Linked DNA regions of Homo sapiens: region 2 is linked to region 1. Evidence: promoter capture Hi-C in human tissues and cell types (Jung and others, 2019). All regions are on one chromosome and are shown on one strand. Each heading gives the region's core, a stretch centred on a gene start or on the middle of the fragment in contact. The rest is flanking DNA. Distances are from core to core; before and after follow the strand shown.

Region 1 (6,112 bases), core at 2,106-4,605:
TACTTGTTTCCAAACCTATCACATTGTTTACATTAAATATATACAGGTTTTTGCTCGCCAATACTTCAATAAAGTAGTTTTTTAAAAAAAGGTTAGGGAACCTTCACCAGAATATACCACTATTACATAAAGTACTTCTAGTACGTATTCCACAGTCTGCAGTGTCCTTACCAGTGGTCAGTAGTACCATCTACATTTTCTGACCAAGGAAACTGAGGCCCAGCAAGATTATTTGACTTGCCCAGAGCCTTGCGGTTCTTAAGGGGCAGAGTCAGAGGTCTGACACCAAAGCTCCTACTCTTCCCACCAAGGCAGGTCATCTACAGCACCTTCTACTCTTAAGGGGTCTGCCATTTCCACCCTCTCTGAACAGACATAAAACAAACAAGTGTATTATGTCTGTGTGTGTCTTTATGTGAGTGTGTAGACTCTGAGGAACAGGTAAGTCTTGGAATCCCTTGAGTGTTTAGTGTGAACCTAGTATGTTTAGCCAGCCAGTATCAGGTCAGTACCCTTTAGCCAGCCAGCCTCATTTTCCATTTGGTCCAGCAAAATGGAATGCCAAGAATAGTGATGGGGCTAACAGGATGCATGAATCCATACTTGTTGAATAACTTATTAGGTAGAAGTAGCAGGTCAAACAAACCTTTCCCCCTCAGATACGCTCAGCAACAATTCAGTGTTGCGGCTCTCCTGCTCCTCAGAGAGCTCTTATTACCCCAGCAGTGGGGACACTCAGAAACCCTAAGACCACAAGTCTTTGTGTTGAAAGAGGCTACAAGTGCGGAAAAGAGGAAAAATAAGGAAAGGAGTACCTCATTAACAGTATGGAGATTTGAAAGTACAGGCTTTTGAAAGTGACTCTCTGAAGCTCCTGGGCCACTCAGCTTCTCCTCTAACTTCCTGTCTGCCCCCAACAGTGGGGGAGGTCAACAGAGGGGCTGGCCAGTCAATAGAACTAGCAACTGCTGAAATCCACATGAAGCTATGGTGGAGAATGTGACCCTTCCAAAAGGAAACCACAGCTGGTTGTGGAATGCAAGATGCGGAAGCACTGATGCCTGCCTTCTATGCTGTTGCTATTGTGATTTCTGCAGCATTATGAGGAAGGTTTCTGATGGAATGAATTTTGCATCTTTTAAGAAAGTGTCTCTGTACCTGGATATGTGCTTGATAAGGTTAATAGAGCAATTCTTGGTGTGTCTTTTTAACCCACAGGAAGGTTAACAGAGGCTTTCATCGTTGGTCCTGTAAGCCTACCCTGAAAGGAACTTTCTGGAAAGAGTCCCCTCCCCCTTAAAAAATGCCTTATAGAATCTTGGGGTTTTGAGGTTGATGTGTTTCCACACCCAAATAACCCCAAAATAGTTCATCCTATTGAAATTCTTGGTGTCCTGGAAAGCATTCTATGGAAAACCTGCCTGGTCAGCCAAGCCCACACGTGAGTCTATGCAGACATCTCCTCTAACCTCGCAAGCCCCAGGAACCTCCTCTAACCTCTCAAGTCCCAGGATCTGAGGACCAATTTTTAGCACAATCTCACACAACAAACCTATTGGGCACCTAATAATAGAAACAAGCTAATGAATGTTTTGACTGTGACAAAAAAAAATGGTTTAATAACTTTTTATAAATGCATTGTTTCTTCTCATTGTCTCAGGGTTATGCCAAAATTAATTTCAAAACTATCTGCTTAAATGTGTCCTTGGACAATAATCACCAGTAAGTCCTGACTTCACCCCCTTTCTGGTAGCGGTCTGACGTTCCTTTGCAGAGTTTCGCTTCCATCGATAAGTTACTTTAAATAAAAAGTTAAAATAAAAACTAGAAGCCACAATTGTGCCTATGTCAGTCATCGAAGTCTTGTACAGGAGTCCGTCTTCGCAGCGCATCGTTCTCAGAAGTTTCCCGCGGGAGGAAAGCTCCACTTTATGAATTACTCGAACAGCTTCCCTGGGAATGCCCAGCCCCGAAGCTTCCCTGCTGAATTCAAAGTCAGAGCTCCCAGGGCTCGGTCCCAGGAACCGGGAGCCGTGCAAAAAGCGCGTACACTGCCATCCACTGGCCCCGAGCAGGTAGTAGCAGGAGTGAGGCGCCTGCCACGGGAGCTCAGGAACTGGGTCCCAGTAAGATCCGACAAGACACCACCTCCCTTCCGCCCGCACAGCCTGCCCTCTCTGCCTGCAGCTAGCGTCACCGGTCGGTCCCCGATTCGGAGCAGCTGGGACCCTCGCGGTAGCAAGCGGATTCCGGGGCCCTAATGACACCGAAGGAGAGGGGCAGCCGCAAATTAGACCTTCTTCCTGGGGGCTCAGGCCAGTAGGGACTGTCCGTGGTGCCCTTCCCTTTCTTTCTCCTCCTGAACGAGAGCCAACGCTGCCCCTTCCCAGGACTGGATCTGAGCCAACCAAATCCTACAGCGCAGAGCCTGCGCCCCCGGCGGCCAGCCCTCCTGTGCCTAGGCAGGTTCACGCCGGAGAAAGTTTGCACGCAGGGACCTACAAGTTCCCAGCACTCTGCAAGAGGGCCAGTTCTGGGATGCCAGCACTTAGGACGGGCGAGTGATCCCCAGGCACCAACTGGGGGCCGGGGAACCAAGCGCGAGCCCGGGCTGTGGAGGGACCGACACCCAGGCGCTCGCAGCTGGGGAAGGGGGCTTACGTCTGGGGCAGGCAAGACTGCTGCACAGTCCCTCCAGCCACCCGGCGCCCGAGACGCCGGCGCAGACAGGAAGCTGTAGATCCCCGAGGGGCTGGCTCCGACAGCTCCACCTGCAGCCTCCCCTGCCGCCAGTGTGCAGCCAAGTCCACTAGATGCTTGGAGGGCACCGTGCGGAGGAGGGACTCTGCAGGAAAGGTGGCATCACCCCCGGCATGGAGACCGGGGTCTCCGGATCGAGCCGACTCGAACACTGAAGGAAACCCTGCCCATGACCCTGGGAGGGTCTCGGACGCCGGGCGACCGGGGTGGTGGTCGGGACCAGGGCCGTGCGCCTGGGAACTGGGTGCAGGGCGCTGAGCGCGGAACTGTCAGAGCGGGAGCTCACCGGCGGCTGGGGAAGGAGGTGGCATCGGGCGGAGGAGAGGACGGGGGCGGGAGGGGCTGACCCTGAATTCACCGGGACTAAGAGGCCATCACACCTGGCTGCGGTAGGACAGCGAATCATCGATCTTACCGGCTTTGGGGACCCGGCTCTGCGGCAGCGCTCTTCCGGAGCGAGGGCAGGAGACTGTTTCATGGATAAAAAGTCTCGCTTATTCTTCTGTCCACTTTTATCTTGGTCGCTTTTCTCTCCTCTACGTGTCCCCCGGGGAGGCACTACGGATGATTTTCTCCAAGCTCAAGAGAGACAAACTGAACTTTAAGCGCCAGGGGCCCCATATTTTGTCTGCTCTACAGATCCCACCCGCGGGCCACACCCTCCCTTCACTCCCGTCTCTGGGTCCCACCCATAATAACCCGTAATGACAGATCCTCCGTGTCCCCACCTCTTTGCATTCAAAGAAGTTATTCTTCAGGGGCATATGGAAAGTCAGTTTCTGCTGGTCTCCCTCAAAAACTTACACTCCACGAGGGCAGCAGAAAAGGACAGGACGATTAAGTTTAAGTTGTGGAAGACTGGTTGGGAGCAAAAGAGTTACTTTTCTCCAAATTTGCCATATCACATCGAAAGCATTTTCTTTTAACCAGAGTGTAGCCAATCAAAATTAACTGCAGGCGCTGGCAATTAAAGAACAAGTTTATCTCAAAAAAGGTTTAACGTTTGGAGGCCATTATTTGCATCAGGCATATGGAAACTTGCGTTCTGTTAGGTATGCTGAAGAAACTGCTTTTGCCAGACTGCCTGAGTCTTTGCTGAGGCTGCAGGGACAAGGGAGAACCCCACCCTGACTGCTTCCAAAACCCTAGTTCCTGATTTCCTGCAGAGGGCACCTACAGGCTGAACCTAAAAGGCGAACAAATTCCTGCCTGTCATTCAAAAGCAGCTACCTTTTCTAAGGCAGCGTCAAGGAGGGCACTGGAGGTACTCAACACAGTAATGATTACTTTACCAAGTCCAAGGCAATTGTCAAATGTGGCAAAGAAAAACACTTCATTGGGTTTTTCTTAGAAATGATTTTTCATCCAATTTCAATCAAGATCTTAATGGAAATTTTGAAAATTACTCATGAGGTTATTTAATAAATCCATCCCCATTATTTAAAGAAAGCCATGTAAAGACAACAAAATATGGGCCAAGCACTTGTTCTTGAACATTATTGCTGAGAAAAAAATATGCATTTGTAAAATGGGGGGGGCAGTATTTTGTTTCTGAAGTGAGATCAAATGTAGAAAATATTGCATATGTATAGTAAAATGACTGAAACACTGATTCCATGTTATTCTAACATCCGATTTGTAAACCAGTATCTGACAAATTTATCATAATTCACAATAATTCAGTTCATATTATGTGGCAGGTGTCATACTAAGCACTTTACATGTATTCTTTCAGTTCCACCAACTACTCTGAGGAAGAAGCTATTATTTTTATTTTAGAGATAAGAAAGCAGATTCAGGGAGCTGAAGTGAAGTAACCAGCCTACGCAAGCTAGCAAGAAGCTGAGCTGGGATTCCCCCGAGGCAGTGACTTCTGGATTGTGTTCTTACTAAGATACTACCTCATCACACACCATCACCGCAGTGCCAGTCTGGGAATCAAGAACTGTGAGCAAATCACATAGTCTTTCTGGGCCACAGTTAACTCAGCCTATAACATAAGGGCTGGATTCAATTGCTAAGGTTTCTACAGGCATTCTGAGGCCAAGTACAAGTTTCTATTTCATCTTCTTTCTCTTCCACTTTCTGCCCTCTGGTGGAGGTGCTACAGGGACTATGAAATTAAAGTAGCTACGTCAGTGGATTTGAGATAGGGTCGATCAGTCTCCCTCACTTTTCCACTTTTAGTTCCTCTGAGAACTAAAGCTAATTGCATTAATGGTGTAAAATAAACATTTTTTAAACTTCCTTTTAGCAAGAAAACCCAACCAGTTCTAGTTACCAACAGCACCAGAATTAATACCTGAGGTATTCTTTGCATGAAGGTAATGACATAAAAAATGAGGGTAAAGATGTTTTATATTCTTTATAATAAACTTTTAAAATGTCAAGAATCATAAACTATTAGAAGTCTCAAAACATATTCAAACTGATTTGAATATGCAGTGTGCTCATTAAAATGTCAAGAATCATAAACTATTAGAAGTCTCAAAACATATTCAAACTGATTTGAATATGCAGTGTGCTCATAGTAATCTTTAATGACCTATTTGAATTATTCTTTAAAAAAAACTAGCTACATTTGCATTTCAGCTTCAAGTGACAACCATCATCTAGTTTCTTAAAATAATTTTACAAAAAGAAACATTTCTAGCCTATTGAAACTTTTATTGTCTAGCACTTCAAGCATACATCCAACTAGTTAGATAATTTAAAAGAAAACACACACAAACCTTGAAGAGATTTATGGAAAAATTAAAGATATTGAATATACCTCAGGAAACGGTGATTTTACAGAGCAAACTTCAGCCACATATCACATTACAGATCAAATTAGTACTTAGTACTACAACTGAAGACAATTTAAGAACAAGAAGAGATCACGGAGAAGCAAGCAGCATCCCAGGATGATAACAGGCAAGCAGTAGCTAAAACAGATATGCTACCCCATGGCTCATCTATTTAGCTATTCATTCAACTAATACTTATTTTGGGTTTGCTGGCTGCCAGATGAACAACCTAGACAGAGTTCCTGCCCTCACCAAGACTTTCAGTCTTGTGGAATGTATTAAACAAATACACAAACATGTAAACTATGAAAAAATACTTGCAAATAATGTGAGAATAGCTTTGGGGAGTTAGAATGTAATATTTTCAGCTGAGATATAAAGATACAAAGCCTTCAAAATAAAAAAAATTAAAAACAGCAAGAAAAAGGTAAACTGGAAATTTACCTGTTGCAGAGAGGGGAGAGTTTATTTAGTCAAAAGGGGGAAAACAACATACCCATATGTACTATAATACACTCTAGCCCATTGATATATTCAGTATCTGATAAAACAATTTGTGTAGA
Region 2 (6,112 bases), core at 942-3,441, 100 kb before region 1:
GATATGTTTTGAGCAACAGTGTTACATAACACTGATGATTTTTTTATTTTCAAGTTTTCTCTATGAATTCTTAAATCCCGTATCAATGGGTTACATTTTCCAAATTACCACTAATGAAGACTGTAAGCATTCTTATAAAACAGGAGAAAATGTAGTTAAAACAGAAAAGACTTAAAGGACTTCTCTTTCAGTTTTACTCACTCAGCCTTCTAGTGGCTTTTAGCTATATACTATCTTTTGGAGGGAATCCTAATTTAGCAGCAGACCTCTACTAAACAACGTGTGAAAAAGAAAACAAACTTCCATTTCTGGCCATGAGGTAGTAACTTGCAGCAGATCAATGCCCCTGTCAAGTACAACTAGAAAAGCCAGATAAAACACAAGAAACATCTGTTGGAAGGCATCTGAGAGCTGATGAGATAATTAAGATGTGAGTGGCCAAGGTCCCAGAGAGAAGATAACTATAGAACAAAGAGTCTACATTCTTTTTTAAAGTTTTATTTTAAGTTCAAAAGTACATATGCAAGTTTGTTATATAGGTAAACTTGTGTCATGGGGGTTTGTTGTACAGATCACTCACTTATTAAGCCTAGTACCCATTAATTATTTTTCCTGATCCTTTTTCTCCTCCTACCCTCCACCTTCTGGTAGACCCCAGTATCAGTCGTTCCCCTCTATGTGTCTATGTATTCTTATCATTTAGCTAAGTGAGAACATGCCCTAAGAGTCTACAATCTGTGTATGCCTTGTCCTTCATGGAACTTGCCAGTTCTTGGCATGGTGCTACACATGTGACCACTGCAAAGACAAGATAAGCCAGCAGAACTTTTGGCAATTCCACAAAGGCGAAGAGACAAAAATTAGAGTTTGGTGTTGCTGAAGCAGCCAGATACTAAGGGGCCAGGTGAGCAGTGAAAGGGGAGACATAGAGAAGCAGATCTATCACTTGGGAGGGTTGCCTTGCAAGGCATTTGCCACAGAGGGCAGGAGCCTAAAGAACTAAGCAGAAAACTTCAGAAAAGTAGAATGGAAATTACAGAAATTATACTGCTCTGAGCAGAAAATAAAATAAAATTTGGAACTACTCAAGGAGGAAGGGAATATAGTAAGCCTACCAGTTTCTCAGTTGAGACTACTGGAGAACCACACTCTCAGAATGGAGAAAAACCAGAGGTAGACGGAGCCTTATAACAATGAGGCAAAATCAGCTTAGTCTCTGATTAAATTAAGGCTATCTGGCCCCATATGTGCCTAGTGATCATATATGTGGCACATACGTGTGATCATATATGTGTCTGGCCCATATCACATATACGATCTGGCCATATATGTCTACCCTTCAAGAATCTATTGCTACATTTGCTGGCCCACTGCCTTTAGCTGTCAGATCCTTCGGGTTTTGCCTCAGCTGTGGAACACTGAAGAGATCTGCCTCACTCAGTGGCACACTCTTCCCAGGAAGGACCACATCCAATGACTGATTGAGGTGGAGACACATAGACTCAACTATTTTGGATCAACATGAGATAACTCTTGTAGGCTTAATACATTCCAGAACTCCCCAAGGATTTAGCTGAGGCTTTGGTGGGCCTGGATCATATTTCAACTCCTTCTGCCCAATTCTGCTTTCTCTCCCTCCCTTAACACAAAGGCTGAAGCTTAATAAATACTCTGTACACCAAACTCCATCTCAGTTACTATTTGCAGAAAACTCAACTTTTAGCACCTAGTGTCAGACATGGTCTAAGAAAGCAGGTGATAAGATATGGTTATTGATCTAGATAACCTCACAACTACATCAGCTGTGAAAACTAGCAGCCAAGCAGCCACTAGAAGGGGCAAAACATGCTTGGAGCTCTCCACAATGCCCCATTACCAAAGAATTGTCATTATTTTTCTTGTCTGTTAGCTCCCTGGAAACTCAGAGCAAATGTGATTATTTGACCTGAATAAGAGCTTACTCAGTGCAAAAGCCTTTTCCCCGGGGTGTTTCTAAAAAAAAAAATTAATAATCGATTAACACTGTAACTGTCTGAGGTGGGGATATCACTTGGGGCAAACAAGAAGCTAACCAGAAAAATTAAAAGAAAAATGTGGGGAATTCCTGTAGGAAAATTTGAAAAGCTCTAATACATTGCTGAGAATCTAGAAGATCCCATGAATGTGCAGGACTATGCATATACCTAAGAAGGACCCAGAAAGGCCCAAATATCTCACCTGTGGCAGACATTGAGACCCTGTACAAGCAGAAATTTAAGGATAAGGCAGAGCTGTAAACTCTGCTATAGTATTGACTGCTATAGCATTGACTCTGCTATAGTGTCGACTCTGCTACAGTACTGACTATGCACCCTAACATGCACAGAATCCCTTGGCAAAGACTAGGATATATACCTGTTAAAGGCATTTAAGGAAATTCTGTCCAACCATTAGTTGACCACTAGGCTGCTATCTGGGCAAAAACTTCAGTGGCCAGACATGACAAAGAACAAACTTAACATAATTTGTTTCAGGGAACTCACTGAACAAATAAATAACAATAATTAAAGCAACAAGAAACAGAAACAGCAACTAATGTTGGGGGGAAGAATTCAACTTGCAGAGTTGAACATTATATTATTTTAAATGTCCAACTTTCAACAAAAAATTACAAGATGTCCAAAGAGACTGGAACATATGCCCATATAGAGGGGGAAAAAACAGTCAACAAAAACTGTTCCTGAGGAAGCTCAGACATTGAATTTACTGGACAGACTTTTAAATCAGTTATTTTAACTCATTCAAAGAACTAAGGAACACATTTCTAGAGAACTAAAGGGAAGTATAAGAGCAATGGCTCAAAAAATACAAAATATTAATAAAGATATATAGATTATTTTAAAATATTAGAAATTATGCAGTAAAATATATAATAACTGAAATTAAAAATTTACTAGAAAGACTTAACAGCAGACTTGATCAGGCAGAAGAGAAAATCCGCAAACTTTAAGATAAGTAAGCTGAGATTATCTAGTCTAAGGAACAGAAAGAAAAAAAAGAAGAAAAATTAAAAGGTCCTTAATGACTTGGAGGATGTACCAACATACTCATAATGGGAGTCCCAGAAAGAGATAAAAGAATGAGTCAGAAAGAATGTTTGAAGATATAATAGCTGAAAACTTCTCAAATTTGGAGAAAAACATACATCTGCATAACAAAGAAGTACAAAAATTCAAATAAACTCTAAAGGATCTACACTTAGACACATTGTAATTAATCTATCAAAAATCAGACACAGAAAATTTTGAAAACACTGGGAGATAAGCAACTCATCAGATAAAATGGAGCTTCAGAAAGGTTAACATCTGACTTCTCATCCAAACTGAGGAGTCCAAAAGGAAGTGGGATAACATATTCAAAGTGCTGAAAATAAAAGACTGTCAAACAGAAATTCTATGTACAGCAAAATATCCTTTCAAAATGAAAGACAAATTATGATATTCCCAGATAAACAAAAGTGGAGAGAATTTGCTATTAACAGAACCACCCTGTAAGAAGTACTAAAGGAAGTCCTTTGGGATAAAATAAAAGGACAGTATACAGCAACTTGAATCCATATGAAGAAATAAAAGGTATTGGTAGAGGTAATTAAATAGGTAAAAGTAAGATAAAAGAAATGTATTTTTTCTATAAATCTTTTATTATCCTATCTGATTCTTAAAAACAACTGCATAAATAATTTATAATCATAATCAATAAACCTATGTTGAGATTATATTATATAAAGATGTAATTTGTATACATAATGGTACAAAGAAGGAAAAAGAAACAAAGCTATACAGAAGCAAAGTGTAGATATTGTTGAAATTCGGTTAGGATTCATCTGAACTAGACTGTTATAACTTAAGACGTTAATTTTAAGTTCCAGCACAACCAATAAGAATAACTAAAAAAAATAGCCAAGCAACAAGAAATTTAAAATGGCACACCCCAATATATCTAACACAAAAAAAGTCAGTAATGAAGGATCAAGAAATACAAAAGTCATAGAGAAAACAAATTTCAAAACAGCATATGCAAATACTTATAATTACATTAAGTGTAAATGAATTAAACACTACAATCAAAAGGCAGAGATTTGTCTCATAGATAAAAATATGAGATTCAATTATATACTGTGTGTAAAAGGCATACTTTATATTCAGAAACACAAATAGGTTGTAAGCTCAAAAATGGAAATTTTTAGGTGCCTATGTGTTTACACATATTTTCTATTGCTGGGTGGAGTGTACTACAGATGTCTATTAGATCTCATTGGTTTATCGTGCTTTGTAAGTCTTGTATTTCCCTTTTAATCTTCTACCTAGTTCTACTCATTATTGACAGTGGAATATTATGGTTGAATTGTCTATTTTTCCTTCAGTTCTGTCAGATTTAAGTATTTCTGGCTCTGTGTTATGTTTTCCTGACGAATTGACCCTTTATCATTAAAAAATCCCTCCTCTTTTCTGATAACAATTTTGTTTTAAAATCTATTTGATCAAATATTAGTATAGCCATTCCAGCTCTTTTAGCAAAGATTGAATGGTATATTTACATATGTAATCTTTATCAAAATTATAGCTGAATTTTTTTCAGAAATTGACAAGTTAATCCTAAAATTTATACAGAAAGGCAAGGGACCCAGGATAGCTAAAGTAATCCTTAAAAAGTTAAAGTATGCACACTTCATAATTTCAAAATGTATTGCAAACTGTGGTAATCAAGAAAGATAGATAGATCAATAAAAAATAATTGAAAGTCCAGAAATAAACCCATACATCTATGGCCAATTGTTTTTTAACAAGGGGCTCCAAGTCCATTCAGTGGGAAAGAATAGCTCTTCAACAATACATACTAGGACAACTGAATTTCCATACGCAAATGAAAGAAGTTGGACTCCTACTTCACAACATACAGAAAAGTTAATTTAAAATGGATCAATGACTTAAATATAAGAGCTAAATCTATTAAAATCTTAAAAGAAAACAAAGGAATAAATAATTAGTCACCTTGTATTAGCCAATTTTTAAAATACATACACTAGAAGCATACACAACAAAAGAAAAGACAGATAAACTGGACTTCCTCAAAGTTAAAAACTGTTGTTAAAATGAAAACAGCCCCCGAAGAATGTAGGAAGATATTTGAAGATTATATAGCTTAAAAGGCACACTTGCATCCAGAATATATAAAGAACCTGACAATTCAACAATTTAAAGAGGCAACCTAATTTTAAAATGGGCAAAGTATTTGAATAGATATTTCTCAATATAAGGCATACAAATGGCTAACACTAACAAGCACATGACATGTTGCTCAACATAATTAGTCATTAGCAAACTGCAAATCAAAACCACAATGGGATACCACTTCACATCAACTAGGACAGCTATAAACAAAAGAGACAAGTGTGGTGAAAATGTGGAAACACTGGAGCCCTCATACATTGTTTGTAGGAATGGCATTTCCTCAAAATGTTAAACATAGAGTTAATACTAGTCACAGCAATTCTACTCCTAGGTATATAGCTGAGAGAATTAAAACAGTATGTCCACACAAAAACACAAAATCTTATACGCAAATATTATACAGACAGCATTATTCATAACAGTCCAAAAGTGAAAACAGTCCAAATATTCCTCAATTAATGTATGGATTTTTAATGTGGTATATTCCTACAATGGAGTATCAATTGACAATAAAAATGAATGAAGTACTAATAATACATGCTACAGCATATATGAACCCTGAAAATATTTTGCTATGTGAAAGAAGTCAGTCACAAGAGTCCCATACTGTATGATTTAATTCATATTAAATGTCCAAAATAGTCATGTTTATAGAAACAGAAAGTTAATTAGTGTTTACCAGGGGCTGAGGAGAGGGATAGCAATTTACTGCTAATGCGTGTAGGTTTCTTTCTAGGGTGATAAAAACATTCTGAAATTATTATAGATGATTATGATGGTTGTACAATTCTGTGTGTATACTAAACCACTTAATAATATACTTTAAAGAGATGAATTTTATAGTATGTGAATGATCTCAGTAAAGCTGGCATTTCTAAAAGGTAACTAGCATAATATGAAAA

Evidence for each region. Contacts are between HindIII fragments. The study calls those that stand out against the background at their distance.
Region 2: a fragment that was not itself captured here is called in contact with the fragment with the promoter of CORIN in region 1 in 3 of the 25 tissues and cell types used here (H1 embryonic stem cells, mesendoderm cells and pancreas).

What each region holds. Positions count from the first base shown.
Region 1 is chr4:47,834,712-47,840,823 of GRCh38, forward strand. CORIN (corin, serine peptidase) reads right to left here and starts at 3,356. Exons shown (of 22, transcript NM_006587.4): 1 at 3,176-3,356. The coding sequence starts at 3,238. All of the region lies in intron 1 of LOC101927179 (a long non-coding RNA gene), which reads left to right. The HindIII fragment of the contact is 9,769 bases long and covers 421-6,112 here.
Region 2 is chr4:47,736,003-47,742,114 of GRCh38, forward strand. The region is part of intron 5 of CORIN (corin, serine peptidase); the gene reads right to left. Among named protein-coding and RNA genes, the nearest start is that of MIR8053, 86 kb to the left of the region's middle. The HindIII fragment of the contact is 8,496 bases long and covers 1-6,112 here.